Regions from separate parts of the Homo sapiens genome. Here region 2 is linked to region 1. Evidence: promoter capture Hi-C in human tissues and cell types (Jung and others, 2019). All regions are on one chromosome and are shown on one strand. Each heading gives the region's core, a stretch centred on a gene start or on the middle of the fragment in contact. The rest is flanking DNA. Distances are from core to core; before and after follow the strand shown. Region 1 overlaps ZBTB25 (zinc finger and BTB domain containing 25). Region 2 holds the start of GPX2 (glutathione peroxidase 2).

The links. Contacts are between HindIII fragments. The study calls those that stand out against the background at their distance.
Region 2: a contact is called between the fragment with the promoter of GPX2 here and a fragment that was not itself captured in region 1, in 1 of the 25 tissues and cell types used here (dorsolateral prefrontal cortex).

Annotation. Positions count from the first base shown.
Region 1 is chr14:64,494,846-64,501,242 of GRCh38, forward strand. All of the region lies in intron 1 of ZBTB25 (zinc finger and BTB domain containing 25), which reads right to left. Among named protein-coding and RNA genes, the nearest start is that of ZBTB25, 5.8 kb to the right of the region's middle. The HindIII fragment of the contact is 7,112 bases long and covers 283-6,397 here.
Region 2 is chr14:64,938,582-64,944,978 of GRCh38, forward strand. GPX2 (glutathione peroxidase 2) reads right to left here and starts at 4,164. Exons shown (of 2, transcript NM_002083.4): 1 at 3,924-4,164; 2 at 577-1,257. The coding sequence starts at 4,145. The coding sequence ends at 907. The region is part of intron 3 of CHURC1-FNTB (CHURC1-FNTB readthrough); the gene reads left to right. The HindIII fragment of the contact is 8,107 bases long and covers 1,206-6,397 here.

The DNA.
Region 1 (6,397 bases), core at 2,589-5,088:
TCAGATTAGATAATTTCTATTAATCTATCCTCAAATTAAATGACTTATCTGTCATATCTGATCTGTTAAATCTATTCAAGATTGTTTCAGATATTGTATTTTCAGATGTAAAATTTTCATTTCATTCTTTTTTAAAGTTTCTAATTCTCTGCTGAGATTTCCTATTTGTTCACATATACAACATTTTGCTTTACATCCTTGAGCATAGTTATAATAGCTGCTGCTTTAAATCTTCTCTGCTAAATCCAACCTTTGGCTAATTATGGGGTCAGTCTCCACTGATTAGGGTGATTGTTTCTGGATTATAGTCTAGGTATTGTGATTAATACAATTCACTCTAGATTCTGTAATATTCTTCCAAAGAGTGTTTGTGTTTTTGTTTTTTGCAGACAATTACCTTAGCTGGACTTAAACTCCAAGTTCTGCCTCCCCTATGGTGGACAGCAGCTGAAATCTCTGCTCCTTTAGCCTTAAGTGTGCTGTTTGGAGGCTGCTCCACACATGTACAGTTGAGGGGTTTGCAAGAAATTCAAGCAGAGTTTATAAACAGTGTTTGGGGTTCTGCCACTCCAACATTCTTTCTAGGATTTTCTCCTGCACTTTCCAGCTGCATGATCACTGTGAGCTCTGTCCTCTTTTCTTCAAGAGAGATTACAGGTTGTTATTACAGTTGTAGCCACCTCTTCATATCACCAGCTGGGACCTTATGCCAGTCTAAAAGCCATAAAAACAGAAGCTTATTCATTGCTGTTCTCCTCTTCCAGTTGCAGACCTCAATCTAGTTTTTGTAATTCTCAAATGCCATCTATTAATTTTTAAAACTTTTATCAGCTGGGCGTAGTGGCTCATGCCTGTAATCCCAGAACTTTGGGAGGCAGAGGCGGGCAGATCACCTGAGGTCGGGAGTTCGAGACCAGCCTGGCCAACATGGAGAAACCCCATCTCTACTAAAAATACAAAATTAGCGGGTGTGGTGGCACATGCCTGTAATCCCAGCTACTCTGGAGGCTGAGGCAGGTGAACTGCTTGAACCTGGGAGGCAGAGGTTGCGGTAAGCTGAGATCACGCTACTGCACTCCAACCTGGGCAACAAGAGCGAAACTCCATCTCAAAAGGAAAAAAAAAAAAAGTGTATCAAGTTTATAGTTATCTGCAGGAAACTGTCCTGATAGGAACTATTCAACCATTACCCCCTCCCCCAACATTGTGTTCTTTTTAAACGAAAGCAATTTATTAGAAAATAAATAAAAGAATGGCTACTCCATAGGCAGAGCAGCCCTACTCAACCATTACTGTTTATCAGCAGTTCTAAAAAGCTGTGGTCTCAAGATCCACTCACACTCTAAAAAGTATTACAGACCAGTCACGGTGGCTCACGCCTGTAATCCCAGCACTTTGGGAGGCCAAGGCAGGCGGATCACAAGGTCAGGAGTTCAAGACCAGCCTGGCCAACATGGTGAAACCCCGTCTCTACTAAAAATACAAAAAAAAAAGCTGGGCACAGTGGCGTGTGCCTGTAATCCCAGCTACTCGGGAGGCTGAGGCAGGAGAACTGTTTGAACCGGGACCTGGGAGGAAGAGGTTGCAGTGAGCCGAGATCACACCACTGCATTCCAGCCTGGGCTACAGAGCGAGACTCCATCTCAAAAAAAAAGTATTAGAGATTGTGAAGAGCTGTTGTTTATATAGGTTATATTTATCAATATTTACTATATTCAAAATTAAAAGAAATTTTAAAATATTTAAAATAGCAATAAACCCATTACATATTAACATATTTTTTCCTAAAAAATTTTTCAAAAACAAGTGAGAAGGGTGATATTAATTTACATTTTGCAATCCTCTTTAATATCTGGCTTTAACAGATACAGCTGGACTCTCTTATCTGATTCTGCATTCAATCTGTTGTCATCTCTTGTTTTGGTTCAAGTATATTGAGAATCTGTTCTTACATAAGGGAGATCCTTATTGACCCATGAAACCTCCAGTGGCTCCTTGGACTACACTTTGAGAACCACTGCCCTACACTATCTTTTTTTCTTTTAAATCTTGTGAGGTAGTAGAGCAGGTACTATCAGCTCTATTTTATGGCTGAGAAACCACAGGCTCAGAGAAGGCAGGAAACATACCTGAAGTCAAACAACTAGCTATTAAATGGTGCTGATAATACATCAAGACTGAGTTTAAACCCAGGGCCCTTTCTTCAAAACCCCATCTAGAACTTTCAACATTTACACTGTTGGCAGATTTTGCAAATATGTTGAATCAAATAAGGGAGTAAACTTTTCAAGTGTATAAAATGAAACAAATTAAAATCTATTAAAAAAAAAACACCAAGTACACATGAGGTGCATTCAAACTTGTTTTGCATAATAGGAGATCTTTGATGTTGTAATATACCAGATTTTACTTCAAATCAATAGCCCCATTCCATTGAGTTATTAGAACATTTTCTAATACAACCTACTCTGCAAATTATTAGCTAGACTTTTTGTATAGCCTTTGCTCATCATTCTTTGACTGTCTATTTTATTTTCTCTAGTATGTGAAATAGCTAAAGTTTCCCATGAATACAGAAAGAGCTTAGAAGTTACATTTGAGAATTTCTGGTGAGAATTTTAAGATGTGAGAGAAATTATGGAAAAATAAAGTATTTTATTATACTTATAAATACCAGAATCAAAATATGAGTGCTACATTTTTAAAAGTTTTATCTGTTATCAAAGTGATACATTATCATAATAGTTTTAGCATTGATATTTAAGAGATTACAAAAACCTTCTTTACCTTCTAGATTGTAGTAACTCTGGATTACTTCAAATTAAGATGGAACAACTTTATACTAGTATCTATGTTTGTTTAAAGCTGGCTTGATATTCAATACATATCTTTGATTCTTATGTATTTAGAAAAATCTACTGTACTAGACTGGACTCTCAGATCTATGGTAGCCAGCCGGATATCCTGGACTACACAGCTCTTCATTCTCTCAGGCTGTAAGAATCCTTAATAAAAAAGGAACAAAAAGAGCAAGACGACTGTTTCTGTAGGAAAACAGTCTTAGGTATTTTCTCTGTCAATGCTTACCACTGAGACTTTATGATGAATTTTCATTCAGACAAGGAGACAGGAAAGTTGGCAGAGGAATATGTACATCTTTTTTGAGCTACTTACTCATGGCTATAAATACAAAGGCAAAAGCAAAATATTTCAAGTGCCATATGATAAAAGACTTTATATAGCGACTAACTTTTTAATGGAACTTTCACATGACTGTAGAGGTGTGACATTTAATTATGTAGAGAATGAAACAATGTTTGTAGAAATCATTTTATCCTGAAACAGAGGTTCTTATTGCTGACTATACTGTAAAACCTTCTATGCAGAGCTGTATTGATGTCTGAGTCCCAACCCAGGCTTAGCCCAAACAGAATTGAATTGCTAGGGGTGAGGCACAGATTCTTTTTTTTTTTTTTTTGAGACAGAGTCTCGCTCTGTCGCCCAGGCTGCAGGCTGGAGTGCAATGGCGCGATCTCGGCTCAATGCAACCTCCGCCTCCTGGGTTCAAGTGCTTCTCCCGGACTCAGCCTCCTGAGTAGCTGGGATTACAGGTGCCCATCACGCCTGGCTAATTTTTATATTTTTAGTAGAGATGGGGTTTCGCCACGTTGGCCAGGCTGGTCTTGAACTCCTGACCTCAGGCGATCCGCCTGCCTTGGCCTCCCAAAGTGCTGGGATTACAGGCGTAGGCCACTGTTCCCGGCCAGATTGTTTATTTGTTTATTTATTTTTATTTTTATTTTTTTGAGACAGAGTCTCACTCTGTTGCCCAGGCTGGAGTGCAGTGGCACGATCTCGGCTCACTGCAAGCTCCGCCTCCCGGGTTCGCGCCATTCTCCTGCCTCAGCCTCCCGAGTAGCTGGGACTACAGGCGCCCACCACCACACCCAGCTAATTTTTTTGTATTTTTAGTCGAGACGGGGTTTCACTGTGTTAGCCAGGATGGTCTCGATTTCCTGACCTCATGATCCACCCGCCTCGGCCTCCCAAAGTGCTGTGATTACAGGCGTGAGCCACCGCGCCCAGCCCAGATTCTTTTTTTAAAAAGCTTCCCAGGTGATTCTAACGTGACTGCTCAGTTAAGAACCACTGCCTCAGAAGAACACGGGACCAAGGAAACCCAAGAAATTATTTCACACTCTACAATTACATTGATATTTAAGAGACAATAAAAACTTTCTTTACTTTCTAGATTGTATAACTCTGGATTAGTTCAAACTAAGTAAGATAGAACAACTTTATACTAGTCTCTATAAATAAACAATTCCGTAAGAGTGTTCAAAGTATGGAAATTATGTTGACTACATTAAATGAACAAATATAAACAACTGTAATTCTAATTGTAACCTTAAAATATTGGCCAGATTAAGAAACAAAAGTGCTCCATGGCCAGGCATGGTGGCTCGCTCCCAGCACTTTGGGAGGCCGAGGCAGGTGGATTACCTGAGGTCGGGAGTTCGAGACCAGCCTGACCAACATGAAGAAACCCCGTCTCTACTAAAAATACAAAATTAGCCAGGTGTGGTGGCACATACCTATAATCCCGGCTACTCGGGAGGCTGAGGCGGGAGAATCGCTTGAACCCAGGAGGCAGAGGTTGTGGTGAGCTGAGATTGTGTCATTGCACTCCAGTCTGGGCAACAAGAGTGAAACTCCATCTCAAAAAAAAAAAGAAAAAGAAAAAAAAGAATCAAAAGTGCTCCTAAACTGGCAGGATGGGCATGGGTGGGGGGGTGGAGGAACACACTATTTTCAGACTTCTTTTCAAATAGTATTTAGGAAAAAGAAATATTTACTCTCTTACTCCATTACACCTAGATTGGATTTCATAACACCTAAAAATGATACAGAAATTCTAAATCTGAAAATACTGTTTGAGGTAAAATCTGCTGTAATTCCAGACATCTGCTTATTAAGATCTACTGAGAATGTTAGCAAAGAGGGTATGGAGGGGGTAGATGAAACAGGAAGAGTAGTTATGCTCTAGAAACCTTTAATGGAACTGGGAAACGTTAGTTTGGGGCCTCCTGCCTGTTGGCAGACATAGCCAACCTCCAAGCACCTCTAATTCCCATCTAACCAACATTACATTGTAGGATGCCTGATAAAGCCAAGCACACAAGAATACTAACAACAGTAAGCACAAATTGTTAATAGACCTTTAAAAAAAATCAGAACCCGGAGAAAGAAAGGAAAAGATTCCTCTCAGTCCATTAAAGACAAACCAAATTTCTAAAAGAAAAAATAAGGTACTCAAAGGACAGGAGAAAGATGGAAAATTATAATGCTAGTACAGACCTAGAATACAGTACAGGCAAGAGTAACTAAAACTTCTGGATACAAGTAAACCAATACTTCTTTCGCAATGGAAGTATACTCCCATGAACACACTACTCAAGTGGGCTAATAAAAACCTTTGCTTAAAGTGCTTGGAGATTTCAGAAAAAATAAAACATCCATGCATGACTGATTTGTAACCAGAGAAGAAATGAATTAGAAAAATATAAAAAATAACTGAACACTCTAAGCACTTTTTCTCCCAATAAAGCAAAAAAAAAAAAAAAAAAAAAAGAGAGAGAGAGAGAAAGAAAATTCCTGCTAGCAAAGGGAAAGCAGAACGGTAAATAAATGCCTATAATCCCAGCACTTTAGGAGGCCGAGGAGGGTGGATCACCTGAGGTCAGAGTTCAAGACCAGCCTGGCCAATATGGTGAAACCGTCTCTACTAAAAATACAAAAATTAGTTGGGCGTGGTGGCAGACGTCTGTAATCCCAGCTACTTGGGAGGCTGAGGCAGAAGAATTGCCAATAAGGGGGAAAAACTCAAATGTCCATGGATAGTCAAATGGATAAAGAAAACATGGACCAGGCACAGTGGCTCACACCTATAATCCCAGCACTTTGGGAGGCCAAGGTGGGCGGATCACTTGAGGTCAGGAGTTCAAGACCCGCCTGGCCAACATGGCGAAACCCTGTCTCTACTAAAAATACAAAAATTAGCCAGGTGTGGTGGCAGGCGCCTGTAATCCCAGCTACTCGGGAGGCTGAAGCCAGAGAATCGCTTGAATGCAGGAGGCGGAGGCTGCAGTGAGCTGAAATTACACCACTGCACTCCAGCCTGGGTGACAGAGGTAGACTCTGTCTCAAAAAACAAACAAACAAAAAAAACCCCAGAAGTATAAAAAAATTTAATCAATAATCCTGAAACTGATGTTTGTTACAAACACTTTCTTCTTCCTCCTCTATCCCTAAGCAGGTTCAAGTAGCAATATCTTTCCTTTTTAGGGAGAATACTATTCTGGTTATTTTCAAAACCTATTATTATAATAAATACTAT
Region 2 (6,397 bases), core at 2,914-5,413, 440 kb after region 1:
GGATTATAGGTGTGAGCCACCACACCCGGGCCATGAACTTTAAAAAGGAGGGAGAATCAGTCTAGCAAAGGATCAAACACCCGAGATGTTTGATGATCAGGAAAAAGATAAAGTGCTGTTTGTGTTCTCAGTAACTACACCCTCTATGCCCTTGCTATTGGTAAACATTAACTAAGCTGACTGCCCAGGAATTTCCCAAGGCACAAGTCAGATCTAGTTGGCCCAGTACCCACAGTGCTATTGATGCTTCCTGACTGTAATCCTCCTAACAGCCTCCCAATATCCCCAACCAAAGGGCTCATTGTCTTTTCCTCCTCTACCTCCCATTATCACTTTCTCTTTTTCCCCAGTTCTGAAGAAGAGCTGTAAAGGAATAATATAATTCACATTTCCCGTAACTGCACCTGCCACTGCAGACCTTGGCCAGCGCTTGCTTTCCTGTCAGTAATTAGGGCATCCCTTGATCCGTCAGATCCTCCCCTCCCAAAGCTTTGTGTGCTAGCAGCTCCTCTATCCCACCTGCAGTTTGTAGCTTCCCTCCGCCCTCTGTCAAAGAACACACACACAGGCTGGCCGTTTCCACACCTGCCCTTTATTGGTCTCTTCTAGCAGAGTGGCTCCAGGCCCTTCACGCCTCTCAGACACCACCCATGAGGGTTTAGGAAGGTGCCATCATTCTGTGAAGGCCCAGAGCTTACCCAAGTCTTGGAGCCCAAGTTGAATCACCAACCAGAGGGTTGGGAGAGGAAAAGGAAACAGGCAGAGGGGAAAGGCAAGGCTCTGCAGTGAAGGGGACTGATATCAAGGGAATGCTGAGGTCCAGCAGTGTCTCCTGAAGGCATGCTGCATCCTAAGGCTCCTCAGGACTGGATGGAGTAGGAGATCTGTGTGTTGAGCAGTTCACATCTATATGGCAACTTTAAGGAGGCGCTTGATGTCAGGCTCAATGTTGATGGTTGGGAAGGTGCGGCTGTAGCGTCGGAAGGGCTCTCCCTCCGGCCCTATGAGGAACTTCTCAAAGTTCCAGGCCACATCTGAGCGGCGCACAGGGCTCCAAATGATGAGCTTGGGATCGGTCATGAGGGAAAATGGGTCATCATAAGGGTAGGGGAGCTTGTCCTTCAGGTAGGCGAAGACAGGATGCTCGTTCTGCCCATTCACCTCACATTTTTGGACAAGGGTGAAGGTGGGCTGGTATCCACCCCCAGGACGGACATACTTGAGACTGTTCAGGATCTCCTCATTCTGACAGTTCTCCTAGGGGAGGAAAAAGACAAAGTGCGTGGACAGTGGGTGGGGGAAGAGAAAGATCCACAACATGAAACTCTTTCACCCTCCTACACTCCCTCCCCAGGGTCATTCTTTTTCACTGTGAAAGAGAGAGAGACAAGACAGACGAGGTGTTGCTCACTGCAGCCTTGAACTTCTGGGCTCAAGCATTCCTCCTGCTTCAGCCTCTTTAGTAGCTGAGACTACAGACACAGGCCACCATGCCCGGCTAATTTTTTTTTTTTTTTGTAGAGATGGGGTCTCACTTTGTTGCCCATGCTTTGGCTGCTCTTCAAGATTTAGCACTTCTGAGCTGTTGCTTTTGTCTCCAGTCTACCCTGAGCAGTTCTTAAGGTGTTTGAAGCAGAAGAAAGAGAAAAGAGGCTTAGGTTATACTGCTTAGAACCTCCTCTTCAACTAACCTACCGACCCACCTACCCATAAATCCATACCTACACACACACCCCTTTCCTTTCCTCTGCCCTGGTTTTGCCTCGCCTGCTTTCAATTGCACGTGTGTTGAGTATAGCCTTTGCCTCTGCCTACTCAGCTCCTTGAACTGAGGGTGAAATTGAGACCCAGAGGAATGGGATTTACAGCTTCTTGCTTTCTTCTTGCCTTGTCCTAGAACTGAAGTACAAATGGGAAGAAGCTTTGATGAAGGAAGACCCCCATCCAAGAACATCTAGTTTTCAGGTGCCATAACAGCAGAGCAAGTTCAAGGCAACAATGAATGTGTACTCTAAATGGAACTACTTAGTAACCAACAGGCATGAAGTAAATAGGATACAGGATTTAGGGTTTGGCAATAGGCCAGGGGGAGGGGGAGTTGAGGAAATAAGTGCTTGATGGCTAAAGATTGTGAGTATGTAATTATCATTCTTTTCTTGAGTAGGCTGCTACCCAAAGACTGCTGCACCTCCTATCCACTCACTGCTCTCAGCTACGCATGCTTTGGCTCAAAACCTGGTCCCTGCCTTTCCCTCCCCACTGCCATCCCTGTCCTATTCCCTCTCAGCATCACCATTCATGACAATCCAAAAGGCCTATGGGAACCCTTCTTTTCCACCTCTACCTTTCCAATTTAACAGACAGATACCTTCCTCTGGGAGAAAGTTCCTGCTTCTGACCTGTGAGAACTAACTAGTTCAGTCAGTTCCAGGCCATCATGACATCATGAGCCCAGAGCTGATCTCTAGTGGACTTCTCTGTTTTTGTTTCTGTTTTTTTTCCTGAGACAGGGCCTCACTCTGTCACCTAGGCTGGGGTGCGGTGGCACAATCATAGCTCACTGCAGCCTCGACTTCCCAGGCTCAGGCGATCCTGCTACTTCAGCGTCCCAAGTAGCTGTGACTACAGGCACATGCCACCATGCCTGGCTAATTTTTGCAATTTTTTGTAGAAACAAGGTTTCACCATGTTGCTCAGGCTAATCTTGAACTCCTGAGCTCAAGCAATCTGCCTACCTTAGCCTCCCAAAGCGCTGGGATTATAGGTGTGAGCCACTGTACCCTGGCAGATTTCTATTTCTTGATACAAATGGCTGGCTGGCTCCTGGTAGGTTATAGACTCCCTCCAGCAACTTGCTAGGCTGAAGAGATGGTGTGAGGCTGGAGGTACTTCTGGGGCTGGAGGGACATCTCGAAAGAGGGTTTGCTACTTCTGTCTCTCCTGCTCTAGAAAAGGCCAGACAGAAAACTTAGGGAAGAACAGTGAGAGCAGTGAACAGTTTGGGCTCAGGTTTGTCACAGCCAGTGATGCTTCAGCCTTCCTGCTTTCCTGTCTTCCTCACCTTCATACCACTGTGAATTGAACTAAGGGGATTATAACGAGAGGGTTCGCTTGGGTTCATTCTCCCTGCTTGTACGTTAAAATCATAGGTGGAAATAGAAGAATCCCTAAAAGAGAACTCGAGGTGTGTGGGCTGAAGATCTATAACAGCTTGACCCATTAATCAGAAATAGGTGCATGTAATGCCCAGAGGCACGTGCCTTTTGAAAACCTTTCTCTTTCCTGCTTATTTTCTTTCCACTTGGCTAATTTAAACCAACAAAAATCATCCTCAATCTAAATAACAGTTTGCTTGCATTTGCATAGTACTTTATATTTTTCAAGTTACTTTTGTATATCCTGTCCCCTAAACATCATAATAATCCTATGAGCTAAGTGGTATTATCCCCAATTTACAGATGAGGAAACTAAACCGAAAAATGAAGCGCCCTTTCCGAGGGCACAGAGCCATTAAATAGCAAAACCAAGTCCAGCTAGAGCTAAGGTCTCTTGAGTCTGTCCAATTCTTGTTTGATTCCTGGCCTCTACTTTCTCCACTCATTTATTCAACAAATATTTAATGAGTGCTTTCTGTGCCCTAGGCACTGAGGACACAGTGGAGAGAAACACAGACCTGGAACCAGCCCTCATGGAGTAATATAGTAGAAAGACAGTAAACTATAAAAATCACACAGCCTCAGTGTTTAATCTTAAAAAATATATACCTTCTCTTGGTATGTCACATGCACCTAAAGACCTAGCTTAACAAAACATACCCCATTATTCCAGACACTCCAAAACATGGTCATTCAGCCTCTCCTTTTATCCCACCTGAGCTACACCAACCCAACACTTTTGGTGCATTACAAGGAGGGACCCCTCACCTGATGTCCAAATTGGTTGCAAGGGAAGCCAAGGACCACCAGGCGCCTGGGAAAGCGGCATTGCAGCTCGTTGAGCTGGGTGAAGTCCCGGGTGGTTGTGCCTCAGAGCGAAGCCACATTCTCAATCAGCACGGCCCTGCCCCGGAACGTATTGAAATCTACCTTCTCCCCATCCAGGCTGATGGCACTGAGGTCATAGAAGGACTTGGCAATGAAAGCCATGGTGAAGCGCAGAGTGAGCCCCGCAGAGAGGCCTGAGCCCACTTATGAGCCTATTAGAGGGGTGGGGAGGAAGGAGGAGCCAGGAAGGAGGACAGAAAGGATCTAACAATGGAGCTTTGAGCATCCCCAGGATGACTTAGCAAAAACAGGTCCCCACCTGTAAGTGCTGTTTGAACAAGGAGGTTGCTCCTCCTATTAACAGACTGAACAAGGCCGCCTCCCCGCCCCACCCTGCTGCAACCTGGGAAGGGCCAATTTGATATCTATGAGCAGAGGTAAATAATTCACTGCTTACAGGAAACCAGAGCCCTAAAGGTCGAATGGAGAGGAAAAAAAGGGAGGGAGGGATGCAGGATTGACTCCTACTTGCCCCATCAAGTTGTTCTCATTTGACACAGACGTTTATTGAATGCCTGCTGAGTGTCAATCTCTGAATTGTACAGTGAGAGGGCAGGGTCTGCGGAGATCTGAAAGATGAAGAAGAGAATTGAGCCTCCTATCCATGGGACTCAGATGACAACTGAAATATACATATTCCTGTTCACGTTCTTCTCTTTGTTGCTTTCCACCAGGACAAAATCAAAGGGACCCTTAGGAGGAGAGTGTGTCATTTTCTAGGGGAAAAAAGAAGTTTTCAGTGCCTCAGCTCTTGCCAGGCTGAAGAGACAAAGTTGTGTTTATCTTGAAAAGTCTTTCAGTGCGTGGTGCCACTTGTCCTGGAGAACACACCAGCCTCTGCCCCTGCACTGTACCATCTCCTATATTATATCCCCCACCTCCACCTCATCCCCCAGCCCCCAAGTCATGAGGCTCAGTCGTTGCTGGGAGAATGGTGAAGAGGAGTCACAGAACAGGTGGATAAACTTAGTGGATGAACTGCACCTACCTTCCTCTCAGACAGAGATTTGGTCCCCAAGACTTTTCAGAGCGGGTTTGTGCTGGTCACCTTCCCACAGAAGGAAGTGTGTGGAGGAAGTTGAAGCTGCTGTGGTTCCAGACGCAGGCAGGTCACCCCTGATGCTTTCAACAAGAGGCGTGCAGTGCATCGCAGGACATCTGCTAAGGGCCATCTCAGAGGCCCACCCCTGGAAGCCACAGAAACCGAAAAGACCCAAGCACCCGCCAACTCAACAAGTTACTCTTTTAAAAATGCCTTGATTTCTTCATCAGTAAAACTAGCAATGGGGCTTGACCTAGCTTTGGGATTTTAGAGTGAAATTTCAATAACAAAGCAAATGTTTACTAGGGTGTTTTCACAGGGGCACATCCATTGGGAACTGTCTCCTTGGAACAAAGAATAAGCAAGTCCGGGGAGCAGCTGGTCTTGAGAATCTGATTTGTTGAGATGAGATGAAGTAATTATCACCAGGGAGCGCCAAGCTGCCTTGCAGCTTTTCCATGGCTGTTCAAGTATACAGGGACCATGTGTCTCAGCTGGCTGCTCCCTAAAAACAAGTTTCCATTACCTAAGTGGACAGAAGGAGTGACAGGAAGTGTAGAGGGAAGTGTGTCCCCTGCTGAAGCTGGGTGGAGTTCCTAGAAGCAACCAATAAGAAAGAGTCCCCACCAAGCCACTGAGTCACAAGGACTTGGCACTGATAGTGGGCAGAACTGTAACTTGCCGGATTTATGTGCATACCTAGAGCTTCCCCCTAGTACTCTCTGGGCCTCCAGAGACACCTCTTATTCTCTGCTCTTTTGCAAGCCTTCTTCAAGAAGGCCATGGGAGTTCCCAAGATGAGGAGTGTGGGGGTTCCCTCTTCCTTAGGTACATGCCATCCCTTTTCTCCTGGTGTGACCTTGGACCCTTCAGACTCCCAGGGTTCTCACCTTTCCTAATGGAATATACTTGGTGAGGCTCTCCTAAAATATCTCTGTCTCCAAATTTACCTCAAACTGGCCTCGCTTTCCAAAAGCTTACAACTTTAAGCATACACTAAGCAGCGTATGATTCTTATGGCTTTCTGTGGGACAGTGCTTGCTCTGGACACAGCACTGGCTTAGGCAGAAAGCCTGGGTTGGTGGTTCTTAATTCTGACTGCAAATGAGAATTGTTTGTAGGAATTTTTCTAGAGATGCCAAAGCTTTGCCCTCCAGTGATTCCAATTCAGTGGTTTACAACCACAATTCTGCCACTGTTACTTCGGACCCTTAGGCAAATCTTTAAGCTCTTTTTATTGAGACAGGGTCTTTCTCTGTCACCCAGGCAGGAGTGCAATGGTGCAACTGCAGCCTTGACCTTCTGGGCTCAA